Regions from separate parts of the Homo sapiens genome. Here all the other regions are linked to region 3. The links are contacts of gene promoters, found by promoter capture Hi-C in blood cells and fetal thymus (Javierre and others, 2016). All regions are on one chromosome and are shown on one strand. The core of a region is centred on a gene start or on the middle of the fragment in contact, and the rest is flanking DNA. Distances in the headings are between cores, read along the strand shown.

Region 1 (3,169 bases), core at 648-3,147, 91 kb after region 3:
ATGTTTGCTATGTATTAACAAGAGTACTAACTTTTAAAAGTTTGCTAAAGTTACCTTGGAGTTGGATGTCATGTTCATTTATGTTTTTCCCTTTTCCTCAAAAACTAACTTGAGTCTGAATTTGGCTATTACATTTCTAATTATAGTAAGAAGAGCAACATTAGCATGAATATTTGTTGAGTGTATATCACAGCCTGACAAAGAAAGATAGTTAAATTCTATGTGAAGAAGTTATTGGTCGTAATTATATTAACCTGTAACCACTATGATCATCTATGTGTGCTTGAGAACTCTTTTTTGTTTTGTTTTGTTTTTTCTAAAACAGCTATAATGGATTTCCAGTTCTTAGGAACAATTTATTTGAAAGACCTGAAGGATTTCTACAAGCAAAGAAGAACAAATTGCCTTCAAAATCAAGTAGTCCTAATAGCCCTTTGCCCATGTTCAGAAGAACAAAACAGGTACTTTATCACATTCTTCATGTAATCAAATTTTAGAACAAGAAATAAATTGGATATTTATCCTCCCGTAATATGCTTTATCACTTCATATATAACTATTACTAGATTATTATGTTCACCAAAGCACTGTGAAGATGGAGCAATCTGACTTCAAGAAATTAACTAGTTCTCTTGTCCTAGAACTTTATTTTATATGCTGTTTAATACAGATTCAAAAAGAAACTTGAAAACGCATTAATTACAGACATATTTTGTTATGGAAACATTATAAAAGCATGTGACTTGTACTTGTTTAGCACTCAGTTAAATAAAGATGCCTAAGTGCATAAATTTATTAGTAAGATCTTTATATTTTTTCCAGGAAATTAAATCAGCCCATAAAATTGCAAAGAGGTACTCTTCCATCCCTCAGATGTGGTCTAGGTGTCTACTGCGCCACTGTTATGGACTGTGGTTTATTTGTCTCCCAGCTTATGTGAAAGTCTGTCATTCAAAAGTCAGGGCTCTGAAAACAGCATATGATGTGCTTAAAAAAATGCAGTCAAAGAAGATGGATCCACCTGATGAGGTAACAATTATTTTATTGTTGTTATTTTATTTTTTTGAGATGGGGTCTCACTCTGTCACCCAGGCTGGAGTGCAGTGATGCAGTCATGGCTCACTGCAGTCTTAACCTCTTGAGCTCAAGAGATGCAATCCTCCCATTTTAGCCTCCCAGATAGCTGTGACTACAGTCATGTGCCACCACGCCTGGCTAATTTTTTAATTTTTTTGTAGAGACAGAGTCTCACTATGTGGTCTAGGTTAGTCAGAAGCTCCTGGGCTCCAGAGCTTCACCTGCCTTGCCCTCCCAAAATGTTGGAATTACAGGCATGAGCCACTGTGCCCTGCCACAATTATTGTTTAAAATGCATTATTTTATTCTAGATTTATGTACATGGTGACATCTGTGTTTCGGTACAATTTTGAACTTGTATTTCAGGTATGCTACCGCATTCTTATGCAACTCTGTGGACAATATGATCAGCCAGTGCTTGCAGTTCGAGTGCTTTTTGAAATGCAGAAAGCTGGTATTGACCCCAATGCCATTACTTATGGTTATTATAATAAGGTAAATACCTTGGTTTAATGGATAAAGAGTATTACTTTTGTCATTATGCAACATTAATGGCAGAAATAATTTATGCAGGGGGTTATTTGGCATTTATTTTAGAGTATATAAAATACATTTTGTCAATCAAGGAAGACTTTAGTTCTCTTTTATGTTATACAATCTACTTTGATTTTTTCTTTCTTTGAAACAGGGTCTCACTCTGTGAGACTCTAGCGCCAGGCTAGAGTGCAGTGGCACAATCATGGTTCACTGTAGCCTTGACCTCCCAGGCTCAATTGATCTTCCCACCTGAGCCTCCTGAGTAGCTGGGACTACAGGCATGTGCCACCATGCCTGGCTAATTTTCATATTTTTTGGAGAGGTGGGGTTTCACCTTGTTGCCCAGGCTGGTCTTGAATTCCTGGGCTCAAGTGATCCACCTGCCTCAGCCTCCCAAATTGCTGGGATTACAGGCATGAGCCACCACTCCTGGCCTACTTTGATATTCTTTAGCTTAATTCTGAAACCAATATATGTTCACTTATAAAAATTATTTTACTAATTATTTTATTTTGTTGAATGAATAGGCTGTTTTGGAAAGTACCTGGCCTTCAAGAAGTCGTAGTGGCTATTTTCTTTGGACAAAAGTAAGAAATGTTGTTTTAGGAGTAACACAGTTCAAAAGAGCTTTAAAGAAGCATGCACACTTATCACAAACAACTCTCTCAGGTAAGGGATGTATGTGTTTTACTTGTTCTTCAAAATTAATTGATTAGCTACAGTTTACATTTTTAGAAATTTTAAATAGTTTTAAAATATTGAATGTTTTAGTTTTTAGTTTTATTAAGCAAATTATATTACTCTTCCCATTTAAAAACCACCAGATTTCACTTCTGTTTAAATGTTTCAACTTCTGACGACCTTTGTGTGTGTTTTAGTGTTCATTAATAACTCACAATAGGTTTCTTTGTTATAGTTGTATTTTGCTAAGTATGTGGCACTTTTCATGTTCAGTATTACATTGGTGGATTATTAGCTTGAGCAACAAATTAATGTGTATTTACCTCTTCGAGTAGTAAAATGCTGTCAAATTGTGTTCTTAAGCAGATGGCAGTGACCTGGATGCTGTTAGTCATGGCAGCATGGATAGTGGTCATGGGACACACACTGTGGAGCAGGCACCTTTTAATACGGGTTTAATCAAAGTATATGCTACTGATGATAGATCTAGTACAGGTTTGTGTATGCTTATGTATACATTTATTATAGTACATTTTTAAAACTAGATTTGCTAGCCTATGTTTTTTTACATTTTCATTTTCAGTGATGTTTAACTGTCACTTTTTAATTTTATATATTATGTATTTTATTTGATATTAGATTTAATAACTATATGAAATTTTATTCATTCTTTATTTGAATAGAAATAAAAGTTTTAAGAGAGGTTATAAATCACTTTATTCAAGTATTTAGTATATGATAATCCAGTTAACTCTGCGTAGACATAGATCTGTTTACCCTATCATTTTCTTATAATAAATTCTTTGAAATTATGAAAATGATATTAGAGTTTTTTAAAAAAAGAAGCATAGCTCTGTGTCTAAGTTAATAGTAT
Region 2 (3,621 bases), core at 769-3,268, 68 kb after region 3:
TCAATTAGAATTTCTGAAGCCCCAGCCTGAAGTTTGAAAGAAAAACAAATCCCAAGTATGGAATTTTTGGTTTCTTTTCCCCTTCCCTGTCTTAAGTATATATGATACAGACTATTTTTAAATATGAAGAAATTTCTGAAGAAAGGGAAAGAAATTAATATGTATGTACCAAGTGTAAAGCTACATGTGTAGCCTAAGTTATCTCATGTTATTCTCCATACTTTGTGAGGTGGTTCTTTTTTTTATTTTTTTTATTTTTATTTTTTGAGACAGAGTCTCACTCTGTTGCCCAGGCTGGAGTGTGGTGGCGTGATCTCAGCTCACTGCAAGCTCCACCTCCCAGGTTCTTGCCATTCTCCTGCCTCAGCCTCCCGAGTAGCTGGGACCACAGGTGCCCGCCACCATACCTGGCTAATTTTTTGAATTTTTTAGTAGAGACGGGGTTTCACCGCATTAGCCAGGATGGTCTCCATCTCCTGACCTCATGATCTGCCCGCCTCGGCCTCCCAAAGTGCTGGGATTACAGGCGTGAGCCACCGCGCCCAGCCGAGGTAGTTCTTATTAACCCTTCTGACAAGGAAACCAAAGCTTAGATTTTTAAGCGATTTATCAAAGGGCATATAGCTTATGTTGTCAGAACTGCATTTTAAAGCCATTACTGTTTGACTCCAAAACTAATGCTTCTACCACTAATTATTGGGTAACTATATAATATGTGTATGTCATAAAATAATGTAGTAATCTTGTAAGTGGAAGTCATCATGAGTAAATATACATTTACTCATAAGATGATCTTTTTTATAAGAAGATGATCATAGACCAAACTCAAGTACTTCAAAAAATTCCCTTACCCAGCCAAGTTTTAGAGGGAAGATATCAAAGGAAAGAGGCAGAAATTATAGCAGTAAGTAACAGTAATTAGATGTGATCAGATGATACCAAGATGTTGTTCATTCATTTACGCCACAAACATATCCCGAGTGCCCTTTTTTTGCTAGGCACTGGGAATAAAATAGCAAACCACATATTCTTCTTTCTCTTAAGACACTCATAATTAAGTCTAGCAAGACAGGCACTATGCAGTGAATGGTAAGACACAGTGGGAAAGCTGTGTTACTGAGTTTCATCAAGAAAATAATTTTAAAAAGTGTTTCTATGTTGCGTTCTTACTATAACACAGGATCCTGTTGGTCACATTGTAAATGTAATCACACCTTCACAGCAGGACATCTGCAGTTTGACTTTGCCCTATCTTTATTTTTATTCTCATTTGTGGAAAGATAGAGGGGACAAATTCCAAGACAGTCATTTTTGTTCAGCTTAAGCTTTCTTATCCCACTCTTTTTTCTTTGTTTACTTTTCAAAGTGATATTTGCCCTTTTTTGTTCTGTAGGAAGTTTAGGGAATATAAAAAGGTTCAGCAAGTTCCACTACACACCTGTGCTATGTTGTTCTGTGGTGGTTAAAATATGAGTGTTTTACTTTTCTTTTCTTTTTCTATACATTTTTCAAGTTTTCTAAAATGAATATTCATTGCTTTTGAAATAAAAAAAAAAAAAAACGATTCAAAAAAAAGTAGAGTCAGCTGGTCACAGTGCCTTTTGCCTGTAATCCTAACACTTTGAGAGGCAGAGGCCAGGAGGATTCCTTAAGATGTGGAGTTCAAGACCAGCCTGGGCAACGAAGCAAGACCTCATCTCTACAAAATAAAAATTAGCAGGCTGTAGGGGTGCGCGCCTGTAGTCTCAGCTGCTTGGGAGGCTGAGGCCTGCTTGGGAGGACCACTTGAGCCTGGGAGTTAAGACTGCAGTGAGCCGTGATCATGCCACTGCACTCCACCCTTGGTGACAGAGTGAGACGTTGTCTCTCTGGTTTTTTTTTTTAAAGTGGAGTCATTAAAGCTATCTTTAAGTCCAAATGCTTTGCAATGCTTTATCACCATGCTCTTTTCTACTCCTACCCCATGTATGGTTTAGAGACCAACTGTGTTGTAATTGCTATAATAAAGGAGATTATAGGAGCCTGTCCCAGAAACAAAGATACAATAGTTCCTCCTTTACCCACAGTCTGGTTTTCCATGGTTTCAGTTATCTGTGGCCAACTATAGTCTGAAAGTACATGAGTACAGTACAATAAGTTATTTTGAGAGAGAGAGCCCACGTTCACATAACGTTTATTAAAGTATATTGTTATAATTCTATTTTATTATAAATTATTGTTATCGATCCCTTACTGTGCCTAATTTATAAATTGAACTTTATCATAGGTATATATGCTTGGGAAAAAACATAGTAAATATGGGGTTCTGAACTGTCTGTGATTTCAGGCATCCACTGGGGGTCTCGGAATGTATCCTCTACAGATAAGGGGGAAACTGCTTTATCATTTTTAACGGATATCCTCTTTTATAGTTATATAAGTATTTCACAATATTATGCTTTATTCAAGTAATTTAGTATAATAGGTTATTTCTTTTTTGAAAGAAACAAAAATGATCCTTACTTATACTCTTAGGAAACTAAGAAACTAAGTATTTAAATATACCGAAGTATTTTGATAAGCTCTGTGGATCATGAATTTACTGAAAGTTTTTGTAGTGCTTTTTCTTACAGTATTTAAGAAAAAAACTTATGGTAGGATTTTTCTATTATTTAGGTGTCTAAGCACACTTAAATGGAGATTAAGAGTAAAGATCACCACATTAAGCTTTATGGTGATTAGCAAGATTCCAAAGCAACTGGAATTTACTCAGTATAAATATAAACTTGTGAACTATATTTAATACAAGGTTCTACCCTCATACAAATTAATTTTTGTATATTCAACATGCCAATTTACCCCTGTAGGATTTTTCTCTTGTTAATGCAAATATTTTGTTTTTCATTTTTCATTCAAGGTGTTTAATCTTTTCCCGTTTTTATATATAACAGATATATACCTTTCCCCTCCAAAAGACCATGTAACAAATATATTCCTGTTGTTATTTAATCTTAGAATTGGTGACAAGAAAAATGTAGCCTGGAAGATACTTCCAAAGAAGCCATGTAAAAATCTGATGAACACACTGAATAATTTGCATCAGCAATTGGCAAAATGTAAGTGGATAACTTAATTAAAGGAGGTAATTTAATCTGAAAAAGGGACTCCAATTACTTTGCCTTACTTATAAAAGAATAATGTTTATCTAGCAGAAAGCGGTTTTACCATTTTAAAGGCAGATGATCATTAAAGCAAAATTTGTTAGAAGATGAATGAGAGATTTATAAAATGTGTATTTTTTTTTTTTTCGAGACGGAGTCTCGCTCTGTTGCCAGGCTGGAATGCAAAATATGTATATTATATCTACCAAATTTTTATAGAACCATCTTAAAATAATAAAATTCAAAAGGATGTTAAGGTGGTTTATTTTACCGTTACTGAAATACCATGGAAAAAATGTGGGGTTCCACCTTTATATTGTTTTTTTTTTCTCTTTTGAGACACGGTCTTGCTTTGTCACCCAGGTTATAGTGTGTGGCACAAACATGGCCCACTACAGCCTTGACCTCCTGGGCTCAAGTAGTCTTCCCACTTCAGCCTCTTGAGTAGCTGGGACTACAGACACAATGAGGCACTACGCCT
Region 3 (3,650 bases), core at 946-3,445:
TAGGTTTAACTGTGACTATAGTCACATATGCCTGGAGTGTTGAGAGGACTCCTGATATGACTGTTAAGGGGGGCTCTGAGGTACGATACTTCCTGGGTACACAGTCAAATGCTGCGTATTGGTTTTCTACTGTTTATCAATATTGTTCTTTAAGAAGCTATTTTCTCTGATTAAAAAAACCTTCACGCCTTTTAAACTTTTGAAAGGTTTTAGAATCTCATTGTGTATGCTACATGCAACTATATAACATTTTAATTGGTACTCTGTAGATGAAAATATTTGTGTGTATATATATATATATATGCACATATACATGTATAACCAACTAAAAGAGTGCTTTTGCTGCTAGTGGAATATTTTGATATGCCAAGCTACTCCTTAAAGAGGAATTGACCTGATACGTCTAGCAACACTTAAAACTAATGAAAGGCTAAATCTGTGTCCAATGGGTAAAGAATTGGGAGGGTTCCCAACTGGACTTTAAAAAAAGCTTTTTAAGGTAGGGCACAATGGCTCATGCCTGTAAACCCAGCACTATGGGAGGCTGAGGTGGGTGGATCACTTGACCCCAGGAATTCAAGACCGGCCTTAGGCAACATAGTGAGACATAGTCTCTACAAAAAACAGAAAAATTTGCTGGGTGTGGTGGTGGGCACCTGCAGTCCCAGCTACTCCAGAGGCTGAGGTGGGAGGATCAATTGAGCCTGGGAGGGAGGCTGTAGTAAGCCGTGATCAGGCCACTGCACTCCAGCCTGGGCAACATAGCAAGACTCTGTGTCAAAAACAAGTCTTTTTTTACAGCTTTAACTGACATACAGAGGACTACATATATTTAAAGTATGCAACTCGATTGTTTTGTTTTGTTTTAAAGCAAAATCTTGCTCTGTCACCCAGGCTGGAGTGCAGTGGCACAATCTCGGCTCACTGCAGCCTCCGGCTCTGGGGCTCAAGCGATCCTCCCACCTCAGCCTCTCAAGTAGCTGGGACCACAGGCGCACGCCACCACGCCCGGCTAATTTTTTGTATTTTTGGTGGAGACAGGGTTCTCGCCATTTTGCCAGGCTAGTCTTGAACTTCTGAGCTCAAGCTGACCCTCTTGCCTCGGCCTCCCTAAGCGTTGGGATTACAGGCATGAGCAAAGGCGCCTGGCCTCAGTTATTTTTCTAACCTTTATAGCATGTTTCCCCTTAAAATGTGCTTAAGTACTTTTTTATTGTCCCTCTTCTCCCACTAAACTGCAGTTTCCTGAAGGCAAAGGTTTTCTGTTTCCCTCACCACTGTGCACCCTCTGTATGGATGTTTGTTGACTGAATGAATGAATACAATGAAAGAACTGGAGGTAGGAAATAAAGTTGTAAACTTGGTTAGTAAAAGGCTATGCAATTTAGGAAAAGTTGACTTTAAAGCAGAGGGATTTTGGGGGTCCTGTTTCTTCTTTCATTTGTCCATGGAATAATGTCTAACATTTATTGAGTACTTTCAAGCACTATACTAAGTACTTCACAGGTACTATAGAATTTAACTCCCGAGCAACCCCATGGGGGTAATCAAGCTTTATTAACCTCATCTGTCAACAGCCATCAATGGTGGAGAGCCACAGTCAGGTTTAAGTAGGCCGTATCCAATTAATCCAAAGTAATCGACACCCCGTCAGTCAACAATAGCTGTTTCATCAACGTACTTTTCGGAGAAACCCCCTGAATTCCCCGCTTTACCTTTCTATCTTGGGACCGAAACCTACTCGGCGGTTGCTAACCCTTAAGGGAGTTTCCTGGAGAATGTGAGCACCCTTGGTGGAGGAGCAGCAGCTGCTCAGATCTAGCAAGTCTGAGACGAACCGAGCAAGGCAATCTCAGGACTCCCAGAGTGCCGGGGAGGAAGGAAGAAACAGGTCAGTTGGCGCGAACTGGATTCTTGTGCCTCTGGGTGACGAAAGGTGAAGGGATTGTACGCTTCGCCCACGCCAGCCTGGGGCTCGGGATCTCCTGACCCGACGGGGAACCACGGTGCGTTTCCCCAACTACACCGCACGTCACGGACTAAGGCGACTTAGTCCCGCCCACCTTCACCGCCCCATTATCAGTTTGGCGCTAGGACCCCACGACCCTCAACTCGGCCCTCTCCTCCCACTCGGGCCAGATCCGGCCTTCGATTGGTGCTCGCGGGCGTGATTCCCGCCCCCGCCCCTTCCGTCATTGCCAAGATGGCGCCGGTCGCGGTGGCCGCGGAGGCTAGAGTCGGAGAAAGAGGCGGAGGCAGTGGCGGCCGCGAGGGGAGGGGGAGTCCCGTCTGACTGAGACGGCAGGCCTGGGCGGGCGGGCGGGGGTGCCGCGAAGGGCGGAGCGCCGGGCTGGGGATGAGCTAAGCGGGCTCAGAGCGCCGCGGCATTCAGCCCCTCGTGTTCCGCTACCGCGCGTGCGGGATTCCGGCGCCGCTCTCCGAGCTCGATCCGCTGCTCGCACGGGAGCCAGCTGGGTGGTGAGTGCGGGGGCGGCGACCCGGGCAGCGGTGGCAGGTGGAGCTGTCACGGCCCGGAGAGGTGACAGCCGGGGGCGCGGGAGCGGGGCGGGTGGGTTCGGGGAGGAGGCACGGATGGCCGAGATCTCCGCCCGAGAGCTCCTGAGATCCGGGAGGTGCTCCGCGGCTCGGTCCGCCCCGGGATGGCGCGGCGGTGCTGAGAGTAGCACCCGCGCCTCTGCGTCGGACGCGTGGGGGGCTCCTGTGTTTTCATTCCAGATTTTCTATTCCAGGCTGGCCTGGGGCTGTTGTTATTTGGGAGTGGGGGCGGGGAGGGGGAGGTCCTGGATCTGGGATTTTGACAAGCCCGTTACGTAAGTCGGAGGTGGCTTCCCGGAATCCCACCTGCTCGGTATCTGAGACAGGCGGCGGGGGGAGCCCGGGGTGCCTGCAGGCCCACTTTTCCTCCCAGGGTCTGTTCAGCCTTCCCCGGCCCGCGGGCACGGGTTCTGCGTGAGCGCGGCCAGCGTCCAAGTTGACCAGTTTTTTTTCTAGTCTTTTTGGGGGGGTGTGTGGTGGGGGAAGGGAACTGTTCCTGGTTACCACCATTCCCTTTGAAGTTTATTGTTTTCTGGAGGTGGGGGGCAGGAAAAACAGTAAAAAGCTTGTGACCTAAAATTGGGTCGCAGCGACAGCTTTTCATTATCGTGCTTTTAAATGACAGATGTGCTGGAAGATTGTTGTTGTTGTTCCAATGTGCTTTTAATTCAAACGTATGGTTACGCCTAGAACCGTAGAGAGAGGTTTTTGTCTTATAGGACAGTTATTTCTTGTTTGCAACAGCAGGACAGGCATCAGTCAACAGGCATGTATTTATTTGAGGAGAAAACGCGTGTCAGCCAGCTAGAGACCCGTGAGGGCAGAAATTGTATTACTCTGTGAATATGTTATTCTTTAAAATGTATTATACGTTAATGAAAAGAATAGCCCGAATGTAAAAGAAGTCTTAGAAGATTACAAGCTGTTATTTGGTGTGTATATAGTCTCCTTCTATTTTCTGTTTACCCTAGTATACCTCTTCTCTCCTTGGGGGAGGAGGTGGAGACACCTGTAAACAGCGTAGCCCCGGTTACGCTAATCTATTGTAGTACATTTGGGATTATTTTAAGAAGTATTCTGGGGGACCTAAGATT

Evidence for each region. Contacts are between HindIII fragments. The CHiCAGO score rates a contact against its expected background, and 5 or more counts as called.
Region 1: a fragment that was not itself captured here is called in contact with the fragment with the promoter of DENND4A in region 3 in 2 of 17 cell types (total B cells and naive B cells); the score reaches 7.9 in total B cells.
Region 2: a fragment that was not itself captured here is called in contact with the fragment with the promoter of DENND4A in region 3 in 4 of 17 cell types (total B cells, naive B cells, megakaryocytes and 1 more); the score reaches 7.0 in total B cells.

What each region holds. Positions count from the first base shown.
Region 1 is chr15:65,700,165-65,703,333 of GRCh38, reverse strand. It overlaps DENND4A (DENN domain containing 4A), which reads left to right. Exons shown (of 33, transcript NM_001320835.1): 16 at 326-461; 17 at 823-1,029; 18 at 1,444-1,572; 19 at 2,142-2,283; 20 at 2,659-2,790. Among named protein-coding and RNA genes, the nearest start is that of SNORD13E, 4.8 kb to the right of the region's middle. The HindIII fragment of the contact is 8,993 bases long and covers 1-3,169 here.
Region 2 is chr15:65,722,322-65,725,942 of GRCh38, reverse strand. It overlaps DENND4A (DENN domain containing 4A), which reads left to right. Exons shown (of 33, transcript NM_001320835.1): 12 at 2,995-3,095. Among named protein-coding and RNA genes, the nearest start is that of MIR4511, 4.8 kb to the right of the region's middle. The HindIII fragment of the contact is 1,381 bases long and covers 1,328-2,708 here.
Region 3 is chr15:65,790,838-65,794,487 of GRCh38, reverse strand. It overlaps DENND4A (DENN domain containing 4A), which reads left to right and starts at 2,195. Exons shown (of 33, transcript NM_001320835.1): 1 at 2,195-2,478. It overlaps LOC105370866 (a long non-coding RNA gene), which reads right to left and starts at 2,015. Exons shown (of 3, transcript XR_932372.2): 1 at 1,716-2,015. RefSeq lists enhancers at 1,499-2,118, 1,342-2,307 and a silencer at 2,309-2,638. The HindIII fragment of the contact is 1,569 bases long and covers 1,555-3,123 here.